Linked DNA regions of Homo sapiens: region 2 is linked to region 1. The links are contacts of gene promoters, found by promoter capture Hi-C in blood cells and fetal thymus (Javierre and others, 2016). All regions are on one chromosome and are shown on one strand. The core of a region is centred on a gene start or on the middle of the fragment in contact, and the rest is flanking DNA. Distances in the headings are between cores, read along the strand shown. Region 1 holds the start of SLC25A32 (solute carrier family 25 member 32). Region 2 holds the start of PTDSS1 (phosphatidylserine synthase 1).

What was found. Contacts are between HindIII fragments. The CHiCAGO score rates a contact against its expected background, and 5 or more counts as called.
Region 2: a contact is called between the fragment with the promoter of PTDSS1 here and the fragment with the promoter of SLC25A32 in region 1, in 1 of 17 cell types (non-activated CD4 T cells). The highest score is 7.2, in non-activated CD4 T cells.

What each region holds. Positions count from the first base shown.
Region 1 is chr8:103,411,255-103,417,135 of GRCh38, forward strand. SLC25A32 (solute carrier family 25 member 32) reads right to left here and starts at 3,853. Exons shown (of 7, transcript NM_030780.5): 1 at 3,530-3,853. The coding sequence starts at 3,683. DCAF13 (DDB1 and CUL4 associated factor 13) reads left to right here and starts at 4,132. Exons shown (of 11, transcript NM_015420.7): 1 at 4,132-4,262. The coding sequence starts at 4,193. RefSeq lists enhancers at 3,519-4,140, 3,874-4,213. The HindIII fragment of the contact is 9,226 bases long and covers 1-5,881 here.
Region 2 is chr8:96,260,233-96,265,948 of GRCh38, forward strand. PTDSS1 (phosphatidylserine synthase 1) reads left to right here and starts at 1,670. Exons shown (of 13, transcript NM_014754.3): 1 at 1,670-1,987. The coding sequence starts at 1,809. MTERF3 (mitochondrial transcription termination factor 3) reads right to left here and starts at 1,378. Exons shown (of 8, transcript NM_015942.5): 1 at 1,269-1,378. It overlaps LOC105375652 (a long non-coding RNA gene), which reads right to left. Exons shown (of 3, transcript XR_928431.3): 3 at 4,574-4,660. RefSeq lists enhancers at 131-824, 976-1,035, 1,518-2,210, 2,356-2,595 and silencers at 1,199-1,523, 1,276-1,425, 1,606-1,975, 2,026-2,205. The HindIII fragment of the contact is 8,922 bases long and covers 1-3,747 here.

The DNA of each region.
Region 1 (5,881 bases), core at 2,603-5,102:
CTCTTTATCCTCCTGCCTCCATTTCCCAATTTCTTCCTTGATTTCAGTTCTTTCCCATTAGTATTTAAATAGACTTAAGTCTCTCCTAAGTATTTCCTCTTTGATCTCAGTGCCCCCTTATCAGGTAAGTGTCTGCAATGAGAAAACCAGCCCCTCCCTGGCCCCCGAGACAATCTCAGCAGGGACTCTCTCACCCCTGCTGCAATCTGGTTTGAGCTTTACCAATTACTGCAAGCGCTCTAATTAAGAACCTTCAAAGGCACTTTGGAGTTCTCTCTTTCTTAGGAACCCCTTAATACACCTGATATTGTGTAAATCCCTCTCTTCTGGCTCATTTAACACCACATTTTCTTGAATGTCCTCTTGCTTCTTTGCCAATAAATTTCCTTGGCCCCCTTTTCTCTGCCCATCCTTAAATGCTGATTTATAGGCACAATTTCCACCAAATAGGGGTGGTGTCTCAACCATTAAGTGGCTTCAACTGCCATCCCTGTGCTTCTAGTCCTGGTCTCTTATTCCTAACATCCTGCCCTACTAAGGGTTGTGGTTCTACTGCCAGTTTCCATTTTCACATGGCATAAAAGATAATGTCAATCTGGCAGCTTAACTTTCTGGAATCATTCTTTATTTCCATCTCTAGCATTTTAATTTACCCTTTAGCTATACCAAACTACCCACTCATGGTTTCAAACTAACAGCATATGTTACGGAAACAGACTTTCTGAGCTTGAATCCCAGTTCTAGCAATTACTTTGCAACCCTGAGTAAGTCACTTGATTGCTCTGTGCCTGAGTTTTTCTGTAAGATAGGAAAAAATAATAGAACCTAACTCTAAAAATTATAAAGGATTAAATCAGTTAGTACATATAAAGCTCTTAGAATTATGCCTGACATATTGCAAGCACTCTGTAAGTACTAGTTTATTTATGCTACTGGGTCTTGCGATACCACATACTTACACAACTTTACTCGGCACTACTGTTACTGAATTTTACGTTTTGGTTCCTTAATATTTTGGATGTAGTCATAGTCTCTACATTCTTCACAAAAGCTCACACACAACTTTAACTTGCAGATTAGGCTTTTGGGTATTTGAGAAAATTACTATTTTTACATCTCATTCTTTGTTGGGGCTCTCTCATCATTCTTGAGGGTTTAAAATTACAGAGTAAAGTTAGAAGGGGCCTGAATAATCATCCAATCCAATCTTTCCACCTAATACAAGAATATCTTCTAACTTCTGTCATCCAACTACTATCTGAACCACTTCTGATCATCATCAATTTCATTTCTGAGCACTGCCACATTGCCAAACCAAAATCTGCTTCCTTGTAATTTCCACTCAACCTGTGTCTGACCTTAGGATCAACCCACAATAAGGCAGCCCCCTTTCCCACATGTAAGTTCTCTAAATATCTTGAGGTTTTTTTCTCTCCCGAGCTAAACTAGTTCCTCCAGTCATTTTTCATATGAAGTAATTTCTAATCTTTCTACCACTCTGGACACCTCTGAGTTCCAATTTATACTTGAACTCACAGAAAAATTCCAGGTTTGGTTTAATAGCACATGCATTCAGAATTAACCCCCACACCCTGTCATCATTAGATTTTAACTTTATTAAATGAGTTTAATTACATGGAAGCATAAAAATTATAGTATGTTACTCAGCACTGATGTTGATAATCAATAAATTTTTATTTCGTTATTCATCTTCTTAAGTTTTCCTCCTATCACCATTTCACAGCTACACTGTGAGCTTTATTATTACAAAGTCCTGCTTCCACTCCTGGATCTTTAATTTAGGCCTCCAATCCAAACTCAATCCTTTTATCTGTCACCTCAGCCCCACTAGTCTCCTAATACTCTTCCCAATTCATCAAGACTATTAATCTTCTCAGGTACCAAGAATTCCCTTTCCTCAGGAATGATATGCTTCAAAGCACTGTCTAAACTCATCAGGCCAACCACACTATTCTTCAATGATCACCTCGACTATCACCTCTTCTGCTCCTAGATAAAATGCTACTGAAGACAGACAGCAAGTCATACAGGCCTGCACCTGCAGGCAAGTCTAAAATTCTTCCAATGTTCAAACCATTGTATAACAGGTACTTATAGAGGTAATACGGTGAGGGGTTAAGTGCCAGAGGGTTCCAGAGTTAGATTACCTGGGTTTAAATCCCAGATCCATCTTTACAAACTTGTGACTTGGGCAAGTTAGTCAACTTCTGTTATCCTCATCTGTATAGCAGATATCATAAACTCACAGGATTGTTCCTGTGAATAGATTTACAGGATAATAAATGAGATAATGCATCTAAAGCATAGTTCACTGCCTTGCTCCTAGTAAATACTCGATAAAGATTACTTGTCAATAACATAATTATTTGTGCATGCATCATAAAACTTCATGACATTATATGTCTTTGTGGTGTTTTTTCTAGAGATAATACTCCATAATTTTCGATGATTTTCCTTCATAGAACGGGTTCTTGCTTCCTCTCCAGCTGTCAAAATATTAGCCCTTCTATGGGAAACCCCAAGCCCCAATCTTCCACTGAACCTTAAAGATACACATGGCCATCAGTAATGTAGAATTTTCTTAACGGTTTACCTGTATTTATATTTTGTTTTTGTATTTCTTGATTTTATGTTGTCTAGAATTACCTTTTATATGACTAAGTCTAACGCCTACAATTAAATTCTAAGTTCCCTGAAGGCAAGAACTTTATTAGATACTTCTGTAGCCCATACAGCAGTCTACAAATATTAAGAGAATATAAATCAAGTGAACTGAATTGCCTAATGCTAAAATAAACAACTTCTGTAGATTTAATTCTCAAGGCTGAACTTAACTTGTAATAACTTTATTTGGAAACTATTTTCTGCAATTTCAGTTATCAAAGATCATCTTTGAAACTCTTTCCAGACTTTAGTGTTGAGTTTAACTTCTAAAATGCTTTGTTAATTTCAACATACTCAATTCATCTAATACACTTAAAATAGTATTTCGATTCTAGCTATTTTTTCACAGAAACTTGTACCATTCTACAAATGCCAAAAAACAAACATTCAAGAGAATTCTATTCTAAATCTACTCCCAACCATTCGCTGAAGATTACGCCCTATCCCAATACTAGTCGAGCTGCCAAACCACGTGGGTATGCTAAGATTTCAAAGTTCCTCCAAGAGTGAATGATTTGCACGTGTGAGGACTAAACCTTAAAATGTGACAATCCCTTCTTTATTTTACAAATCAGGCTTTGAATCCCATCTTCTCTGCCAATGAGGATGTTTTTTCTCAGACTTCTCTACATACATGCCCCCTCTCTTAGTCTTGAGGAGCGGGGAAGATCGCAGGCCGACCCCTCCACCAAGCACCATTTCCTCAAATCTAGTTCAGGTTAGCCAACGCGGACAGCAACGCTCCCTTCAACGCTCCTCCTCCCCCTAGAACGGAAAAGACGGAGGAGATCCAGTTCGGGCTGACAGTGAGAGGATGCAGCCCGGTGTCTGGGCGGGCTCTTACCGGCGAAGCGGATCTTCACGAGGTCGAGCGGATGCAGCGCAAGGTTGGATAAGACGCCGCCGCTCACGCCCGCTATCAGGTTCTCATACCGGACGTGGCGGAATACCGTGCTCCACGCCGACGACCCGGACGCCGACTGGCCCTGGCCCGTCATAGGCTCGGGGCCCGTCGACACCACGGCGCCCAGGGCCGCGGAGGTGGGACGCGATGCAGTGGCCGCCACCGTGGCGACGGTCGCCCCTTGTGAGCGCAACCCCACCTCCGGGACCAACGAGAGGACTCTTATGCCCAAGGCGCGTGAGCGAAGCCGGAGACTCTAGTACTGAGGGGGCAAGAACGGGGCACAGACACTACGTCACGCCGGCGGAAAGCGCGATGGAGGGGAGGTCCCAGCCTCTCCCGAGTCTCCGCCCTGCCTCGCCCACAAATGCTCCAGCCCACGGACGCGGAAGCGACTGCACAGCTAAAGAACCGCCCCTTGCTAACGTTTGCCGGCAAAACTACGGAGCGGCGCAGGATCCAGTTGAGCCAGCAGGCCGCCGCTCCGCGAGTCACGTGACTGGAAGTAGTCTGGGAAAAGCGGAAGTCGCCTGTGGGAGGAGGTGGCGGTGGGCGGAACTCCTAGCGGACACCTCGTGGAGTCCGGCCGGAAGAGCAACCGAGATGAAGGTGAAGATGCTGAGCCGGAATCCGGACAATTATGTCCGCGAAACCAAGTTGGACTTACAGAGAGGTAAGATAAGTTGGTAGGGAGAAAGGGACGGTTTCCGCAAGTCGTTGGGTCTAGCCTCGGCTTTCGCGGAGTAAAGCCGGGGGAGGCTGGCACTCTGGTCTGGTTCTTTCTCAGTTACCTTTCGCTAAGGCAAACTTTGTGCTTACGGAGTCGCTGCGGAACTGGATGGATAGCAAGTAAAGTCTGTTCAAGTCCTTTTTCTAAGAATTTCCTCTAGTGGTGAGTGGGAAACAGTTGTCTATAGTGGAGAAAAATTCCAGCTGCTGCTCTGGGATTGTCTTCAGGTTCCTATTACTGAAAAGTGGACTTGAATGAGCCAAACTCGTGGGTTGAAGGGCTGAGAGTTAAACAGGCTTTTAAAACCTTCCTACTGCTCTTCTTGCCGCTTTACTACTTCACATTAGTTGTGGATGTTGGAAGAGACAAAGATGAATTTAAAAGCATCAGTTTTCTCTTACCATCCCTTAAGAAGTTTGATGAAAGAATGGTTAAATGAAATTAATTTATCCTTCCTGGTCTGTTCCCCCGTTAACATGCTAACCACTTATAAATTGTACTTTGTGATACCTAAATGACAAGGGACCAACCATGCGTAAGCAGATTGTTCTAAATAAAGAGAATAACAGGAGCAAAGGTCTTCAGGCAGGAATGAACCTAAGGCATAGAAAGAAGGGCTGTGTCATTAGTTTGAATGAGGAGTAAGCGAGATGAGATGAGGCGAAAACAGTATTTCACTATTTTGGTTGAGTAGGAGATATTATCAACATGTGTGTGAGCATTGCTAATAAGTCTCTGCTCAAAAGATGTTTACAGTTTGTCACAAGGCAGTAATGTTTCTAAAATATAAATTAGATTTGTCACTTGGATTTGGCATCGTTCCCAGTCCTTGAATCTCTGGTCCCACCTTCCTTGCCACTTTAGTCAGTCACTACGTTTCCCACAAGTGGTTTAGTATTCACCCTTGCAAATCTCAGTGCGTTTCAGTCATCTTTTTTAAGGCCTCCTGTGGCACACACCCTTACCCAGTTTAGCCGCTTTCTCTGGAAGACTTTCACCGAACAGTAATCTGTTCCTGCTTACCTCCTGCATGAGCCCCGCCCCCTTCAGCACCCGTCTTCTGTGATTCTATCACTTCTTCACAGTGTTTATCACATTGTCTCATGATTATTATTTTGGTTAATAGTCTTTCCCATCAGACTTAGCCTCCAAAAAGGGGAAGAATCATGTTCGTGTATGCACTGTTAAGACAGCACCTAGCACATAGTTGCTTTAATAAATGTCAGTTTCTCCATCTATAAAGATTCATTTTTGCCTACATGAAGAGATTTAGAAACAAAATGATCTATCTTGTTGGGGTTTTTAAACTTCTGTTGAAATTATTAAAATGCTAATTTTAGTTGTAGGAACAGCTGCTGACATCAGAGTAGATAGAAATTTTCTAGACTTCAAAAATAATCTTTGCAAAACTGATGGATGAGACTGAAAATTAAATATATTAAATAAACGTGGCCAATTATGGACATTATCATTTTGGGTATGCTTTCTTTGTGAAGTACAGGCATTCTGCACTTTGCACAGTACCATATTAACTGAACCAGTCCCACTCTTTAAGAGGTTTA
Region 2 (5,716 bases), core at 420-2,919, 7.2 Mb before region 1:
ATTCACAATACCCTGCTGGGATAGGTGGTTTCTGTTAGATTTTGGTGGGAAATGGGACTCCAAATGTGCCAAGTTTTCCCTCAAACCTACAACATTCATTCTCTGCACGGTAGTCATAAGGGCACTAAATTGAAAGTCAGAAGACCTCGGTTGTGCTACCTTGACAAGGCTGTTTCTGGCAGCAGTCTAACAAAAGCAGCAGTCTAGCCCATGATGTGGGGGGTGGGGGTGGGGTCAATAACTATTCTTCAAATAATGCTTTTTTAAAAGGCTAGGGGTACAATAAGATGATTCTTAAGGCCCCTATCAGCTCTAACATTTTTTGACGTCTAAGCACTTCATCCTACTTCAAACTCCTGAAATCCCAAATTCATCCTGAAGCCTTTCCACACTCAATACCACTTAAACATCAGGAAGACTCACTTTCAAATTTCACCCCGTCATTAAAAGATCTTTGTGCATACAACTAATGTTTATCCTTGCATTTTTATTTACAAGTGCACTATCTTCTCCACATCCTTTCATTGCTGCCTACACATCTTAACAATTGATTAACTGTTCATGCACGAGAGCAGAGCTGGGTCTCATCCCTGGATCCATCCTTCCGGGGACTATTCTCCACTTTCCCAGAGCCTTGTACTGCTCTAATGTTTGCGGAATGGAAATAAATCAATGGCAAGTACAGTTAACTCACTTGCTTACACAGTATGCAAAAGCGGGTAGGGGATGTGCAGATGTGTATAAAAGCCCTGTAAGGTGGTAACCTGAAGTCTTCTAACAAGGTCCTTTCATCAGGAAAATTACAGAAAACCCTTAAAGAAACTGAAGTCTCTTAACAATTCATATATACTGTTCTCAATGAGTGCCTAGTGCTTCGCTAGAAAAAGGCACTGAAATAGAGTTCAAGATTTCTACCTACGAAATGCTATAAATGAAATCAGGAGAGAAAGGGAGGTTATGGGGGCAGCTTCCTAATAAAGGGTCTCTCAATACTTCCCAGGCCATTTTAGCCCACTTCAGTTCCCCAAACTTGCGCAGGAAGGCAGAGCCCCCTCCTGAGGCTTCTCACACTGCGCTAATTAGCCAGCATGGTTGAGTTTTCACTACATCAGCCAGGGAAAAACACAAAACAAAACCAATCACCCTCTACTGGGCCGCGAAAACCTAAAGGCCCTTGAGGCCCTGGGGCGCGGTCTGGACGCGGGTGCGCCGGAACCTGAACCCTCGCCAGGAGCGCGATCCTCGTGCTGGGGCAGCTCCTGCTTTACCTGTGGCGAGGCCTGCTTCCCGTAGCGGGTGACCCCGGGACCGACCAACTCGCTGGGCCGCACGTCCCGTCCCGCCGCGCCGCACGCCGGCTCCTCAGCCCGCCCTACACAGCGCAGCCGCGCTCCCGGGCCCACGTGGGCCGCGCCCGGAGTGGGCGAGACCATGTGCCGGGTTACGCGGGGAGACAGCGGGCTACGTGCTCTGAAAAGAGCCAGCCAGGGGCCCCGGCTACCCTTCTCCGGCTCGCTATTCCTCTGAAGTCCTGTGGACTTGGAGTCTGAAAATTCCTCGAGTGGTAGAGATGCCTCAGCTAGGATGACAGCGTGGGGACGGCCGGCGGCGTCCCCTGCCCCAGGCCGCGGTGGCGGCGCCGCGACCCCGCCCTCTCGCGCCTGTCCTTCCCTCTGCTCCCAGCCTTTGCTGGGCGCCAGACCCGGCTTTGCCGTCCGGCTATTAGCCTACTGTGGCTAGTCACCCCCGGGGTCCCGGCCTTCTCGGGCTGGGGCCGCCGCCACCGCGGCAGGACGGGGAGGCGGGCCATGGCGTCCTGCGTGGGGAGCCGGACCCTAAGCAAGGATGATGTGAACTACAAAATGCATTTCCGGATGATCAACGAGCAGCAAGTGGAGGACATCACCATTGACTTCTTCTACCGGCCGCATACCATCACCCTGCTCAGCTTCACCATCGTCAGCCTCATGTACTTCGCCTTTACCAGGTGGGGCGGCCCAGCCGAGCGGGGGGCGCGTCCAAGGGCTAGGGAAGAGGCGGGAGGGAGGGTGGCGGGGAGGGGGGCCCGGCATGGCTCTGGGTGAGGAAGTGGGCTGGCTGCTCCACGCACACGCACTGGCAGCCCGCCGCCCACGCGGCCCCTCCGCCCGCCCGGTGTCTCACAGTACGCTAGCCTGCTCCCCTACCCCTCAGTGCCCCTTCTCCATACAGCGCCTCCGGTTACACGGGGAACGCACGCGAGTCACCTAGCACGATCGCCCCCTCACCCACCGCACTCAGCATCGCTCCACACAACATCACGACGCGGGCCCCTCCTCTGCACTGCTCCAGCCTTCGTCCCTACCCAGCACACCGCATGAATCATGTCGTATGCACCACTTTCAGCACACACCGCTACACATACAAAGCACCCCAATCCACAGCGCCTGCAGGCACCATACACAGGCCCAGGACACAACCTAGATCCCTTCCTGTGGAACTCCGGTATTCGGCACTATCCGTAACGCACAAAAAATGCACATGTGTGCTGCATACACGGTCTTTCCTGTGCAGCACTTCCCGTATGCATTGCACACAAGTCATCCAGCATAACACTTCCCCCAGCCTCAAACACTACCATCTGTACCACGGCACAAACTGCCACTCTAAACACACACCTCACAGCGGACCTTTCCTTTCCAGCACAGCCCAATACCCATCATCTGTGTACATGGCTGCACAGACACCAGCCCGCCACACATCACGCGGTGCATACCCTGCTCACTCATTACCTAACATACGTGCTGAAATGTGATCTTGTCCAGCAATTTTAATGGTGCCTGGGGTATAGTAACTGCTGTGTGTTAAATGAAACACATAAACCTCACACAGCATAACACAACTCTCTTATTCCCTGGAAAACATACACACACATTCTAATATATACCGGTTCATAGGAGCTGCCCAGCCCAAATCTTGAACACACCTCATGTTAACTCTGGCACTGCGCCTGTGGCTCCTCATTCCTAACCTAGAGAACTAATTCATCCTTGGTTCATAAGGAGGTACACACCGTGGTTCCTACTTAGAATGATTTATACTTTCTGAATGAACCTCTTTAAAGAAAGGGAAGTCACACCTCTCTCACCATTATGGCTTAAAAGGCCAACTTAGAGTAGAGTAGTTTTTGAGCCACACTTTTGGTTTCAAAACTGGCTGTGTGTCCTTAATTAAGTTGCATAACCTTGCTCTGAGCCTCAGGGGCCACACTCGTAAAATGGGGATGAAATATCTACTTATATAGGGTTATGAAAATTAAATGAATGTGTGTGAATGCATTTAGCAGAGTCCCTGGAGCACAATGTACAATTCATGTCAGTTACTTCTCTCCCAGTATTTTTATCCAACAATCAAGGTTCTCTGTCAGGGTCAGCAGAACATGTGTAGGGATATATATATTGGGTAGTCACAAGGATTGAGAGAACTTCTAGTATTTGGGAGGGGGAGCAGTTAACGGATACTAAATGTATTGTGACATATGTGACAGCGCTGTACAACATAAAGGGAATTGTCTTCTACACAGTCGTTTGCATACACACACACAAGTGCCGGTGGTGCCTCCCTTAGGAATAACTGCAGTTTTTCAAATCCTCATAAAACTAATATCCTCCCACATCACACTTGTTCCTTACCTCTGGGATTCATTTGACTCTTGGTTCTTGTTATGTAAGTGTTTATCCATTTGAAAGAATCTACCTAAAGGTATAAAGCTTAAGTAACAATTGCTTACTCTTTAATGATTGAGGGATCTTGCCACTATTACTATAAAATCTGCTAAAGCTGTGCAGCAGGTGAAGACCAGACCTTTCCACAGTACCTGACCAGACATATTTCTAGCTTTGGAGAGAAATGAATCATGTCCCTAACTATGGTTACTTTCAAATACTTCATTATGTTGCCTGATTTTATCACTTAATAGCTGTGTGGCCACATAATTTTGCTAGGCCTCAGTTTCCTTATCTGTATGTAAAATGAAAATATCAATACATTAATCTGTCGGGATTATTTGTCATGAGGATTAAATTCATCTTTTTAGATAATCTGTTTAGCTCAGTGCATGGCAAGTATTAAGTGCTTAATAAACATTAGTGGTTATTACGATGTGATTTCATTGAATGCTACTGTCTTCTAATTTATATTTATTATTGAACGAGGATGTAGTATGCTCTGTAATTGAGAAGGATAAAAGCACTGGAAAAATGGACATTAGATAACATACATACCTGTTTGATGTTAACTTCAGTTTAACTTCATCTTAGGTGTGGGCTTGAAATAATGAAATTAGTGAGGGAGTTTCTCTGGAAATTAGAAAAATAATTATGGTATTTTGTTTTAAATAATGAGAAGCAAGAATGAGCCATTTGTTTCAGCCTTTCATTTTTAATATTATTCTAGGTCCTTTCAAAATAGGTTTCTCTTCCTCTTTTCTGATATAAAAAGTCACAATCTTCTGAAATTTCCTTTTACATCATATTCTGTCAAGGCAGTCAATAAATTGCAGCAGTGAAAGTATAAGAAATGAATACGAATTTTAACAGCTTGTCCAAAATAATAGAAGAACCATAATCTGAACTTCAGACTGTAGTCTCATCCAAAAATGTTAACAATTTTATTTCTTCCACTAATTTCATAAAGAGACAGAAATCACATAATGAAGAACTAATTAATAACAAGTTTCACTTTATATAAAATCATAAGCACCATTAATAGAATTCGTACTTACTAAATCTTACTCATTTTTTGTAATGATTTGTGACTTAAGTGGGGCATTACAATGATAGCTCTATATTCCTCCATAAAGACGGAAAGTAACGACTTCTTAAATGAAAATGTATCCTATGTTCTTTTGTAATGATTAACTCCAGTGCCTTATTATTTATTTTATAAGATTTTAGTTGGACAATTGTTCAGTGCAATTCTTTCAGTAAAACTTAAAAGATATGTCTTAAAGTTTGTTTTGCAAAGACTAGTTGTCTAAGAGAACGAGGAGATAGGATTCTTTTGGGATGTCATATAACCAGTATGTGAGAAACAGTACTTGGGTACTGTCACATGCTTCAGAGATCCAGCAAGAATTTAAAATTACAGAGGATTAGATACCTTGCACTGAAGTCTGAGACAAGTTTGGATTTGTCAAGTAGTTCTTTTGTTAGATGGCCCTTAGGTCAATTCCCTGTTAAACCATAGTATTTAAATATCTCCTGTCTTTATCACCATCATTAAAAATAAAGTTAGATACTACCTAATCATTTTCCTATTTGAAAAAGCTCATTTCCAGCCTGGACAACATGGTGTAACCCTATCTCTACAAACAAACAAAACAAAACAAAACAAAACAAAACAAAACAAAAATTAGCTGGGCGTGGTGGCATGCACCTGGAGGCTGAAGTAAGACGATCACCTGAGCCTAGGAGGCAGAGGTTGCAGTGAGCTGAATCACGCCACCATACTCCAGCCTCCACCCTACTCACTCGACAGAATGAGACCCTGTCTCAAAAGAAAACCAAAAACTTATTTTCCCACATTTTAGAATAAGTAGGCTGGGTGCAATGGCTTACGCCGGTAATCCTAGCACTTTGGGAAGCCAAGGTGGGAGGATTGCTTGAGGCCAAGAGTCCAAGACCAACCTGGCTAACATAGCAAGACCCCATCTCTATTAAAAAATAAATAGTATTTT